Regions from separate parts of the Homo sapiens genome. Here region 2 is linked to region 1. Evidence: promoter capture Hi-C in 16 types of primary human blood cells and fetal thymus (Javierre and others, 2016). All regions are on one chromosome and are shown on one strand. The core of a region is centred on a gene start or on the middle of the fragment in contact, and the rest is flanking DNA. Distances in the headings are between cores, read along the strand shown.

What was found. Contacts are between HindIII fragments. The CHiCAGO score rates a contact against its expected background, and 5 or more counts as called.
Region 2: a fragment that was not itself captured here is called in contact with the fragment with the promoter of TMEM267 in region 1 in 1 of 17 cell types (total CD8 T cells); the score reaches 6.7 in total CD8 T cells.

What each region holds. Positions count from the first base shown.
Region 1 is chr5:43,480,325-43,486,075 of GRCh38, forward strand. TMEM267 (transmembrane protein 267) reads right to left here and starts at 3,541. Exons shown (of 3, transcript NM_022483.5): 1 at 3,498-3,541. It overlaps C5orf34-AS1 (C5orf34 antisense RNA 1), which reads left to right and starts at 3,595. Exons shown (of 3, transcript XR_007058763.1): 1 at 3,595-3,677. RefSeq lists a silencer at 3,396-3,626 and enhancers at 3,572-4,415, 3,681-3,870. The HindIII fragment of the contact is 3,795 bases long and covers 146-3,940 here.
Region 2 is chr5:41,852,960-41,858,710 of GRCh38, forward strand. It overlaps OXCT1 (3-oxoacid CoA-transferase 1), which reads right to left. Exons shown (of 17, transcript NM_000436.4): 4 at 460-595. Among named protein-coding and RNA genes, the nearest start is that of OXCT1-AS1, 14 kb to the right of the region's middle. The HindIII fragment of the contact is 1,573 bases long and covers 1,609-3,181 here.

The sequences.
Region 1 (5,751 bases), core at 2,291-4,790:
TTTTTTAGAGACAAAGTCTTGTTCTGTTGCCCAGGCTGGAGTGCAGTGGCATGGTGCTAGGTCACTGTAGCCTCTAACTCCTAGGCTCAAGCAATTCTCCTGACTCAGTCTCCTGAGTAGCTGGGACTACAGGCAAGTGCCACCAAGCTTGGGCAATTTTTTCTTTTTTCTTTTTTTTTTAAGAGACAGGGTCCCTCTATGTTGTCCAGGCTGGTCTCAAACTCCTGGCCTCAAGTGTTCCTCCTGTCTCAGCCTCCCAAAGCACTGGGATTACAGGAGTGAGCCACTGAGCCTGACCCAATTACAAATTTATTTTCAACCCTCATTCCAGAAGGAAGACAAAAATAAAAAGCCAATATCCACTTAACTGCAAATTTCATGATGTCCTTATAAAGCCAGTGCATTATATTTTCTTTCACTCATGAAGCAATTTTTAATAATCACAATATATATTTAAATGTTAATAATCTTACTTTTTTTTTTTTTTTTTTTTTTTGAGACGGAGTCTTGCTCTGTCGACCAGGCTGGAGTGCAGTGGCGCGATCTCGGCTCACTGCAAGCTCTGCCTCCCGGGTTCATGCCACTCTCCTGCCTCTCAGCCTCCCGAGTAGCTGGGACTACAGGTGCCCGCCACCACGCTCAGCTAATTTTTTGTATTTTTACTAGAGACGGGGTTTCACCATGTTAGCCAGGATGGTCTCGATCTCCTGACTTCGTGATCCGCCCGCCTCGGCCTCCCAAAGTGCTAGGATTACAGGCGTGAGCCACTGCGCCCGGCTTACTTTTTTTTTTTTTTTTTTTTGACAAGGTATCTCTGTTGCCCAAGCTGAAGTGTAGTGGCACGATCATAGCTCACTGTAACCTTGAACTCATGGGCTCCTGCTTCAGCCTCCTGAGTAGCTAGGACTACAGAAATGCACAACTATACTTGGCTAGATTTTTGTTTTTAAAGTGTTTTGTAGAGATGGGGTCTCATTGTGTTGCCCGGGCTGGTCTTCAGCTCCTGGCCTCAAGTGATCCTTCCACTTTGGCCTCCCAAAGTGCTGGGACTACAGGCAGAAACTACCACACCGAACCTACTAACTCTACATTTTACATGATGAGTTCAGATTTTAAAAGGATTAGTTTGCTAATAAAGTGTCGTGAGCAAAGTGAAAAATCAAAAGATTACTTGAAGTATTTACATGATGATCCAAATTTAAAGCGACCTCAACAAGCAAAATTTACTGTTTACAAAAAACTGTATCACGGTTTACGAATAGGAACACATATATTATATATAATGGGTATAATGCGAATGCATTTTACCAATGGAAAGTACAAAACAGCTTGCTGATGAAAGAGGAAGGAAAAAGCTCACAGTGAACTTGGAAGCAGATCCTTCAGCCCCAGTCAACCCTTCAGATGTCCGCAGCCACTGCCGACATCCTGACTGCAACTTCATGAGACCCTGGGCCAGAACCGCCAGCTAAGTCTTGACCCCACAGAAAGAATAAAATTATTGTCTACTGTTTTTTGTTTGTTTGTGTTTTGTGTGAGATGGTTCCTCGCTCTGTCACCCAGGCTGGAGTGCAGTGGCATGATCTCGGCTCACTGCAAGCTCCCCCTCCCGGGTTCACGCCATTCTCCTGCCTCAGCCTCCCGAATAGCTGGGACTACAGGCGCCCGCCACCACGCCCGGCTAATTTCTTGTATTTTTAGCAGAGACGGGGTTTCACCCGTGTTAGCCAGGATGGTCTCGATCTCCTGATCTCGTGATCCGCCCGCCTCGGCCTCCCAAAGTGCTGGGATTACGGGCGTGAGCCACGGCGCCTGGCCCCTACTGTCTACTGTTTTAAGCCTCTAAGTTTTGGTGTAATTTATTACACAATAGATACGTAGAAGAGAACTATTTCTATTTTTAAGGAAGGTATAATTGCAGTTCCAGAACCCCACATTTCTGGCATCTATTCTACTCCAACTTTTGGTGCAGATATTTAACATCTGGCTCAGAGTCTGAGTATTAGAAAAAGAGAAATTTACTAAGTGTTCTTCCTGTATTACTTATTGTCTCTGAATAATACACCTAAGGGTACCCATTTTTCTTCTTAAACTTTTTATTTCCTTTTCCACTTCCTATTCCTCCCCCTACAAATAAAACGGACTCCCGAACCTCCTTTTACATATTCACTTTTGTTGATAAGGTTCCTTAAGAGTAGTGATCTCTTTTAAACTTGTCATGTTTAAAAATCCAGTGTGCTCAAGGTATTTAATAAATATTCCATTTTACTAATACAAGAGATAATCACATAATAAATCCGCAGCCTATGAACTAAAGATACTGTTTGGGATAGCTTCTCTGACATAACTGACATATTATAAATTCCTCCCTATGACTCGCAGAAGCCATTTTCTGCAATGGCCAAACTTTGTCACACCCCATCCCCCTTATAGCAAATACCACTAACTTTGGGGCCTTCAGAGTATACATAACAGTACTTTTCTCCTTCCTGAATTCCACAAACATATAATTAGCTGGTCACTTTAATTATACGCTATCATGTATTGTTTGCTAATAATCTCTTAGACATTATTTCTGTCAAAACAAATAAGAGCTGATACATTCTCTAAGTAAGTGTCATCTGTTTTAACTTTCCCTCTTCCCCACCAACCTTACACATTATATGCAAAAACCCAAGGTCAAAACACGGTCCAAATTCCAGAAACCGCCTTTATTATGCTTTACCAGTAAGTCTTCTTCACTGAACTGTAGTTGCTGTAAACTTAATATATTTAATTTCTTTAATGGAAAAATATCAAAAGCAGATGCCAAATCTGATGCAACTAACTGACAAAGGAAACACAAATCTTGCTTACTTTCACTGAAACTTTTTATAGCCATCAGATGTCTGCACTTAAAATGTTTAGTTCCTATGCCCATTACGAATAAAACAAAATTCTGTATTTCAACATGTTTCAAGCCTCAGAAGTTCCCAGACATCCTTTTCTGAGTCTGGTGTGATGCAATAATTTTTCAAATGTCATTTAAAAAAATGGGCCAGGCTGCAGGGAAAGGACCATGTCACACTCTCAGCATTCAAGCCTCAAAGGCTCCGGGGCACGAAAGGCTCTTACAACCGGTTAAGGACGGCAATGGGCTCCTTCGGCACGACTCCCGGAACCCCACCCTGGGCCAGAAAAAGGCCAGGGGCGCGGAGCGTAGGCGGAGGGCTGGGGTTCTAGGGATCTAGAAAAAGCGCGAAGCCGGAGGGCGGCGCCAGGGCTCCTCGCAGACCCCAGGGCCGCGGGACGGTGCCGGCTCGTGGGTCACACGCACCCAGGAGGCTCCTGGCTCCCGCGTGGCGGCTGTTCCAGCACGCCCTCCGACCCGCAACCGGACCCTCCAGACATCAGACTCAGTGGTCCCCCACCTCCGGTCTCCCACCTCAGGACGCAGTTCCGCGGCGTCCACCCGGCCCCCTCCCCTCAGTCCCACGCAGCGGCTCAGCCATACCCACCCCGGCTTCTCTGAGTTCAATCCAGCAGCAGCTCGAGCAGCGGCTCCGCCCCTCGGTCGGAGCCATAGAGACGTCGGCTGCCGGCCAGAGTGGCCTCAGACCGCAGCGTCGGCCGAGAGGACGCCGGGATACTGGCCAGCTCCAAGTCGAAAGGAAGCGACGCATGAGTTGTTTGGTGCGGTGGGTAGATACCTCGAGTTTCTCCTCGCCCACCGTAGGCCCCGACCCCTAAAAAGGAAACTTTTGGGACGTCAGAGTGAGAGGAGAAAAGTGTCTTTTTAGTTTAGTTTTGTCAAACCTGAGGATTCGTTTTTCAGTTTAGCCGGAGCTGTGCCGCAAACGTAGCTGCCGACATCCCCACGACGCACCCAAGTGGTGGCCCGGAAGCTGGGGATAGAAAAGTGGCCTCCCCGAATGCCAGGCACACAGGCCTTACTACCAGAAGCTTGAGCTGGGAGCCTCGGCCGTCGCATCTCTAAGGTGCAGCGATACGGCCAACTTCCTTCCGCGAAGCCCTCAGGGTGGGCAACGGAGCTTTTCACCAGACTGAGGGACCGGGCGACCTGGCCGACCGGCGGCTCCTCACCGCCCCCTTGGGGATTTCTTGATAATTCTTTGCCACGATGCGGGCGGATGTTGTGGAGCTACTGTTTGTAGATCGCAGTAGCGTGACAGCACTTAATCATGACTACTAAATCCTCAGAAGTCGAAAAAGCAAGTCCATACAGAATAGTTTGACCCTAATTAAATTGCGCTTACAAGATACAGTTTGTTTACTGGGACTTTGGCTAGGTCCCATCCCGTCTCTGCCTCAGAGTGGTGGTTGCTCTTAGCACCAAGGAAATACCAGCTTGACATTTGACTCTAGGAAGCACAGGCCCAAAAGAAGAGGCCCAAGGAGGGACATTCTTCTTTCCCTTTCCTACCTACAGTTTCTCAAACCAAGTGTCAGATGGAAAGCAAGGGGTGGTATCATCGTAATTATACAGTTGACCATAGAAAATAAATTTCAATCTCAAAGTAAACTCCTAGGCCACCCCCAGAATCTTAGAGTTTCTCAATCATAGAACTCATTTCTTGTCACAGTCTTGGTTCTTAGCCAATGTAAAACACCCAACTGACAGGGAAAATTAAACACCTTTTAACTCCCACACACCTTAAATGAGAATTTAAAGTATCTTTCAGCAAATGTATTTATAATTTTGAGTGCTTTTAGCCATGTTAAGGACAAATTTTCTCCTTCTGAATGCAGTAATAATTTGGCATTACCCTTTTGGCAGTGTGGTACAAAGTCTTATAATCTAGGCTTTATGGAGCTATTGAGGAACAACATAGATGGCTTCATGCAAACCCAAACAATGTAATAGTAGTTCTTTTCTCTGTAGTCGGTCTACTGCCTGTAGATGTTTATTCCTTTTTTTTTTTTTTTTTTTTTTGAGACAGGGTCTCCCTCTGTCACCCAGGCTGGAGTGCAGTGGTGCAATCATAGCTCACTGCAGCCTTGACCTCCTGGGCTCAAGGGATTCTCCGGCCTCAGCCTCTGGAGTAGCTGGGACCACAGGCACATGCCATCGTGCAGGTAATTAAGTTTTTTGTAGAGATGGGCATCTCGCTATGTTGCCCAGGCTGGTGTTAAAGTCCTGGGCTCAAGTGTTCCCCCCTCCTTGGCTTCTCAAAGTGTTGGGATTACAGGCGTGAGCCACTGTGCCCAGCTTACTGATTCATTTATACAAACAGAGTGCTCTCAGTGTGCTACAGAATGACTATGGAGCTCAAGTTCTAGTGGAGGGTGTGAGCCACAAGGAAACAAGCTAGACAGATTGTAATAAGTACTATAAAGGAAGTAAATAGGGTGATGTAATAGACTTGGGAGATGCTAACTTTAGTCAGGTAGTAAGGAAGGCCCTTTTGAGGAAATGGTACTTGTTTGAGAATTGAAATGTGAAGGAATCCAGTGTCAGAGGAACTAAAAAAAAAAAAAGGCATTGTGCCCCTTTAACTTAGTGACATTATCATTCCTGATCTACACTCTTCTCCCCATTTTTCTCGTTTTCTCTGTTACTGCTTCCCGTTTATTTGAAGAGCCAGGTCTTTTATAGAAATCAGAAAATTAGAACATTTCTGGTTGTGTTTGGTGTAATCTTGACGTCATTATAGATATTTGGTTTTGTTCTTTCTTAATAGACAAGCTTATAATAAATAGCACTTTTGGTGAGCTCATTTCTGTTAAACACTTTGCAGCATAAATCTTTTC
Region 2 (5,751 bases), core at 1,145-3,644, 1.6 Mb before region 1:
TCTCAGGAGGCCGAGGCAGGAGAATTGCTTGAACTCGGGAGGTGGAGTTTGCAGTGAGCCGAGATCACACCGCCGCACTCCACCCTGGGTGACACAGTAAGACTCTGCCTCAAAAAAAAAAATAAAAATAAATTCCTATAAATTAACTTTTTAGGATGATTCTCAAACATTCCAGCAAATCCTTTTGTATGCTTCTGGCACAATACACATTACAGTGCCAAACTTAAAATCTTATCTTGCAGCCTGGATATCTTTTAGAAATATCTCTTTTTTCAGTACACAGTAGAAGAAAATATTAATCCTCCAGCAATCAACAGGTGTGAGTTAGAAACAAAATTCCCTGGTTTGGCAAAGTACTATTCCTTCTGCCTTACCTCTTTTGCACAAAGAAATTTCCACGGAGAAAAAAGGAATTTTTAAAGTAAGTTAGTATTATAAAAGAAAAGCAAATTTTCTCACCTGTGGTGTCAGCTCCACTTCTAATTCACCAGATAAGTACTGTCGTTCAAATTCTGCATTTTCTCCCACATATGAAGAGACCATGCGTTTTATCTGCTTGGACCGAAGCAAAAGCCCCAAACCAAAATTGTCAACCCTAGAAGGAAAATGAAGGGAGCTTACCAAAGAGCATCTGACAGAACACTATTACATCTTTTTAAAGAGATAAAACTTTGTTAATTTAAAGAAAAATAAATCCTTTCTTATAGGCATTTGATCCACATTCTTAGTCTCCCATAACCCCAAAACTTTTGCAAGGTAGCTATCCTTTTATTTTACAGTTGAGGAAACTAAAAGTCAAGAAGTTTAAGTTATTTTTTTGTGGGAGCGGGGCATGCACAGGGCAAGGTCTTGGGCAGTAAGGGACATACAGCCAATATTCACACCCATGTCAACCCTACAGTTTTACCCCGCACCTTTTGTTATTTTCACGGCTGCAGAGTGATTCTGAGTTAGAAGATAAGCAAAGAGATGAATTGGTTCTTGTCCTATGCTTTGAAGGAACACATAAATGCAGTGACAATATACTGACCCAAAATGAAGATTTGGATGGAGAAGCTCTTTCACTTCTAAAAAGGAGAGAGGGGCATTCTGGTATTTAAAAGAGAGATTAACATGCTCATTGAAATGTGGACCCAAATTATAAATAGCTATGAACATTTTCCCTATATCATAAATCTTTTGCTCAAGAAGATTTACACATTCTTAACAAAAACAAGCAAAAAAAAAATTAATCACAAGCCAGTGAAGAGTGTTAAGTGGAAACAATAATCCTGTATCTGTTAAATTATATATACTATAGTTTAATATCTTTATTATTTTAAAGCTGGCGCTCAATTTATTCTTAGAAATGGTATACACAGTGTTGACTTTATTTTTTCATTGGGTGAAGGTCTCCAGGTTTATGCCTTTCTTTATTTCTATTATTTTTCAAAGCAAAATATGCCTAGAATTTAAAGCAAAGTCAATGTAACAAGATAGATAACTGAATGAATTATTTTTCCATTTCAGTCACCTTAAAGACTGAAGATCATCTTCCATTCAAGAGTCAGAAATATTTTAACCAACTAGAGAAATAAAACATTTCTAAGATAAGAATACTTGACCTTAAGCTTTTTTTAATGGTGAAATTTTTTAATGACAAAATTTTTTTTTAATGGTGAAATATTTTTAATGGCGAAATATCTTTTAATGGCGAAATATTTTTTAATGGTGAAATTGTTTTAATGGGGAAGTATTTTTCGTAGCAAAACACTTTTAATGGCAAAAAGTATGATGAGACACCACCACAAACATGAAGGGATGGCTAAAAAAGAAAAAAATACCAAGTCTCGACAAAGATGTGAAACAATCAGAACTCTCATATGTGCCAAGGGGAATTTAAACTGAAATGACCACCTTGGAAAAACTGTTAGTACCTACTAATGTTCAATATATCCATATGCTATGGGTCAGCAATTCCATTCTGGGTCTATAACCAACAGAAATGCATACTTAGGTTCATCACAAGACATGTGCAAGAAAATTCATAGCAGCACTGTTCATTATGGCCAAAATTGGAGCCTCCCAAATGCTCATCAGCAAAATAGATAATTGTGGCATACTACATAATGAAGTGGGGTATAGCAGTGAGAATGACTCATCTATAACCATCAGTAACAATGGTTGAATCTCACAGAATAATGTTGAGCTAAAGCCAGACACAAGATTATACTCTGAAATATTCCTTTAATATGATGTTCAAAATCAGACAAAACAAATCTATGAGAATCAAAAGTAAGGCTAACGATTAATATTGGTAGTGGGAGAAGAGAACAGCGACTGGAAGGAGCAGGAAGAGGGCTTCCTGGGGTACTGGTCATGTTCCATTTATCTATCTGGGCATTGATGACATGGGTGTGCAGCTTGTAAAACTCCATCAAACTGTATTTATGAGATGTTCACTTTTCTATATTACTCCATACTATGCTTCAAGAAAGCCTTTTAAGAGACAGAAATGTAGTGATAAGGACCAGAGTGCTTCCTAGAAACAGAAGTTTTTATTTACAATCTCTCCCTCCTAATTCCTTTAGTGCTCTGATGGTTCCTTCCCTACAGAGCTTGTGTCATCTACACAGTTCATTCATCTGAAACTCCGTTACTGAGTGCTTATTCTACCACAGGTTTGTTAATTCATCTAAAACTCCCTTACTGAGTGCTTATTCTATCCCTGTGTCAGGCTCTGGAGCTACAATCATGAATAAGACCTGGTCCTGGGCAGCTTTGAAACTGAGAAAATAAACACGTAACCTATAATTACAACAGAGGGAGAGACATGCTAAGGGAATTAGGCACAAATTGTGATAATTCTGAAAATGGAGAACCCAACTTTTGGGGAGGAGAAAGATAGCAGAAAAAATCTTACAGGAGGTGGCACTTACACAGACATAGGAAAAAAGAAAACATCTCGAGAACAGTGTGTGGGGTGGAGGTGTAGAGAAAAACAGACAGATAGACAGCTTTGCAAAGATGCACTCAGGAAACTACATGTTCAGTGTTCCTGGAGTATGGACTGAGGGCAACAGCATGTGGGAGGGGAGAAGGCAGGACCAGTTGTGATCAGCCTTGTGGGATTTCATCCTGAAAGACAGGAAGTCCCTGTAAAAAGTTTTAAGCGGAAATATAACAGTATGATTAGCTGGAAAGCTTGAAAGATGAAAGGCCGGGATATCAATGAAGAGGCTCGAAGTAGTCCAAACAACCAACAGTGAGAGTCTGAGCAGTGGGAATGGGAATGGAGAAGGGAGAAATCAAGAGGGTCTTTGGGGGAAATAATTCATAAGACTTGTTGCCCATCCTGATGAAGCTGCAGACCCACTCCAGAATTCTGGCTTTGGTGATGGAATATAAAGAAAGTTGGTTGGGGGAAATTAACAAGCACTAGTGACGCCTACTTACTTGATCTGGAAAGGTGTTAAGTATGTGACAAACCACTGACATTTCTCCTGATGCCACCTGTTCTCCCAACTTCATTCCACTCTCCACTCTCATACTCCTCACACCGACAAGTGACCACTCCAGCTCAGCTGATTCCTTCCCAATTCTCAGAATTTCATTTCCAAACCTCTTTCCTACCCCCGGCACTCCTGACACAATGAACACTTCAAAGTGTCTAGGTAACAGGTAACTGTCAACCTCCTACTCAACGTGTTTTGCACCCCTAGCCTTCAAATGCTGAATCTGATAAGATTTCCCATCCACCATGGGTAGAAAAGAAATAGCTGCATGACTTACTCTCACTTGGTTCAAAAGAAAACTAATGCCTAAGTAACATAAGCATTTTCAAGAGTGTACTTTTGAGCTAGAATGCCCGGCAAGTTAAGAATACATTTGTCCACTAGAGGTCACCAGAGGCCTAAGGATTCCGTTGTTCAAGGGCTGTCTTCCCATTACTCTCAATGCACACAATGCCTTCTGAGTTTTTAACCTACTCCTAGTACCTGGCTAGGTCCCCACAATTCTATTCCCCCAAATTCAACTCCACTGCAGCCTTCCCATCTCACCTCATGGCAGGCTCACCTTACAGATCCTCAGCCCAAAACTAACGCAGCGATCTTTGACTTCTCTCACAAACTCCACATTGAATCTATCAGGAAATCCTGATTCCCCCTTCAAAGCCTATTCAAAATCTGGCCATTTCTCACTCTCTCCTTGGTACTCTGCACTATCTTGCCAGGGTACTGCAAACCCTCCCTGCTTCCCCTCCCACACAACATGGCAGCCAAAGCAAGCCATATAAAATGTAAGTCAGAACATATCACTGCTCTTGCTCACACCCTTGTGATGGTACTTTCATTCAGAGTAAAATTAAAGGTCTCCGGAGTGGCCTGCAAGGTCCCATGTGATCAGTTGCCCTTTGATGTCCCCAACCTCACTCCACCCATTCTCCTTTTGGCTCACTTCTCTTCCTCTCCTGGCCTCACCATCCCTCCAACATCTGGACCTCAGATGGCTGCCCTGTAGACTAAATTGAGGGGTCCCCTTGCCCTCTGGCTTCTGATTGGGTTCAGCCACTCTGACCGGGTTCACCCAATGGGAGGCACCATCAAGAGGATGTGGGTGAGGGGAAAATGTTGGGATTTATATTCCTCTGGCTCTCTCCCTGAGAAGTTACAGCCTATTGGATAACCCCCTCCATAAAGCTTTCTTCCAGGTCCTAGTAACAGCTCCCTGCCTTCACTCCTTCAGACCTGGGGCTGGTAACAGCACCCCTCCAATACAAATTCCAGTGTTCTTTATTACTCATTTTTCCCTCATCCCTGACCATTCCACTGAAAAGGCTCCCTTTGGTAAACTCCTCAACCACTCAGAAAATTCAATTACGTTTGATATCATCTACAGCCCAGACTAATAAAGTTGTAATAAAATAATTCATGAAGGTAGATATGATCCATTTTACTTTCTGTAGTTTAAAATATCTGAAACTCCTACAGGCCCATAGTAAAGCCAGAATATAGTTGGACACTGATTGACTTGGGAATTTTTCTAACTACTGTCTTCTGGATCTCTTTGGCTTTTCAACCCATTACCCATTTTAAGTTGGCTCTATTTGGAGATCACATCTCTTTATTCATTTGTTAGCTCTGAGAATCATTGTTTATATGGGCTTTGCTTTGTTTTTAGACTAGTATCCTGGCATAGCAATCAAGCAGTGCATAAGACGCTAGCCCCAGGTGCACTACCTGACCAGTTCTTCAGGTCTTGAAAATGCTGTCAGCTTACAATGAGAGTGTTTCTTGCCACATACTTTACAACCCAAATTTGGCAAGTGTATATCTTACCTATTATCAGACATTGATGATAAAAAATTAGTAAGACAAGTCCCTTACCTATAAAGGCTTACAAGATAAAGAAAAATAGATGTGATCTTTTGCAAATGGGGAACATATCATTTCTAATAGAGACATGTATATTAAACCATCTTATAGCTCTTTAATACTAAAGACAATGCTGATAAGACCTTCAAAAAGATGGGTGCTTTCCTTTAGTAGCCAACATTTTTTAGCATACTAAAGAGAGATGTGATCTTTTTCCTGCATCATAACAAACCTGGGTTTCAAACATTTTGGTGACTAGAAAAAGTCTAAGGCCAAGAATTCATTAATGAGACACATTATTATAAAGCAAAAAGATACCGCATCAGAGACAATGTTCTGGAAATATTTCCATGCTCTGAATCTGAAATTTAATTTGCTGATTTTCTGAAATCTCATT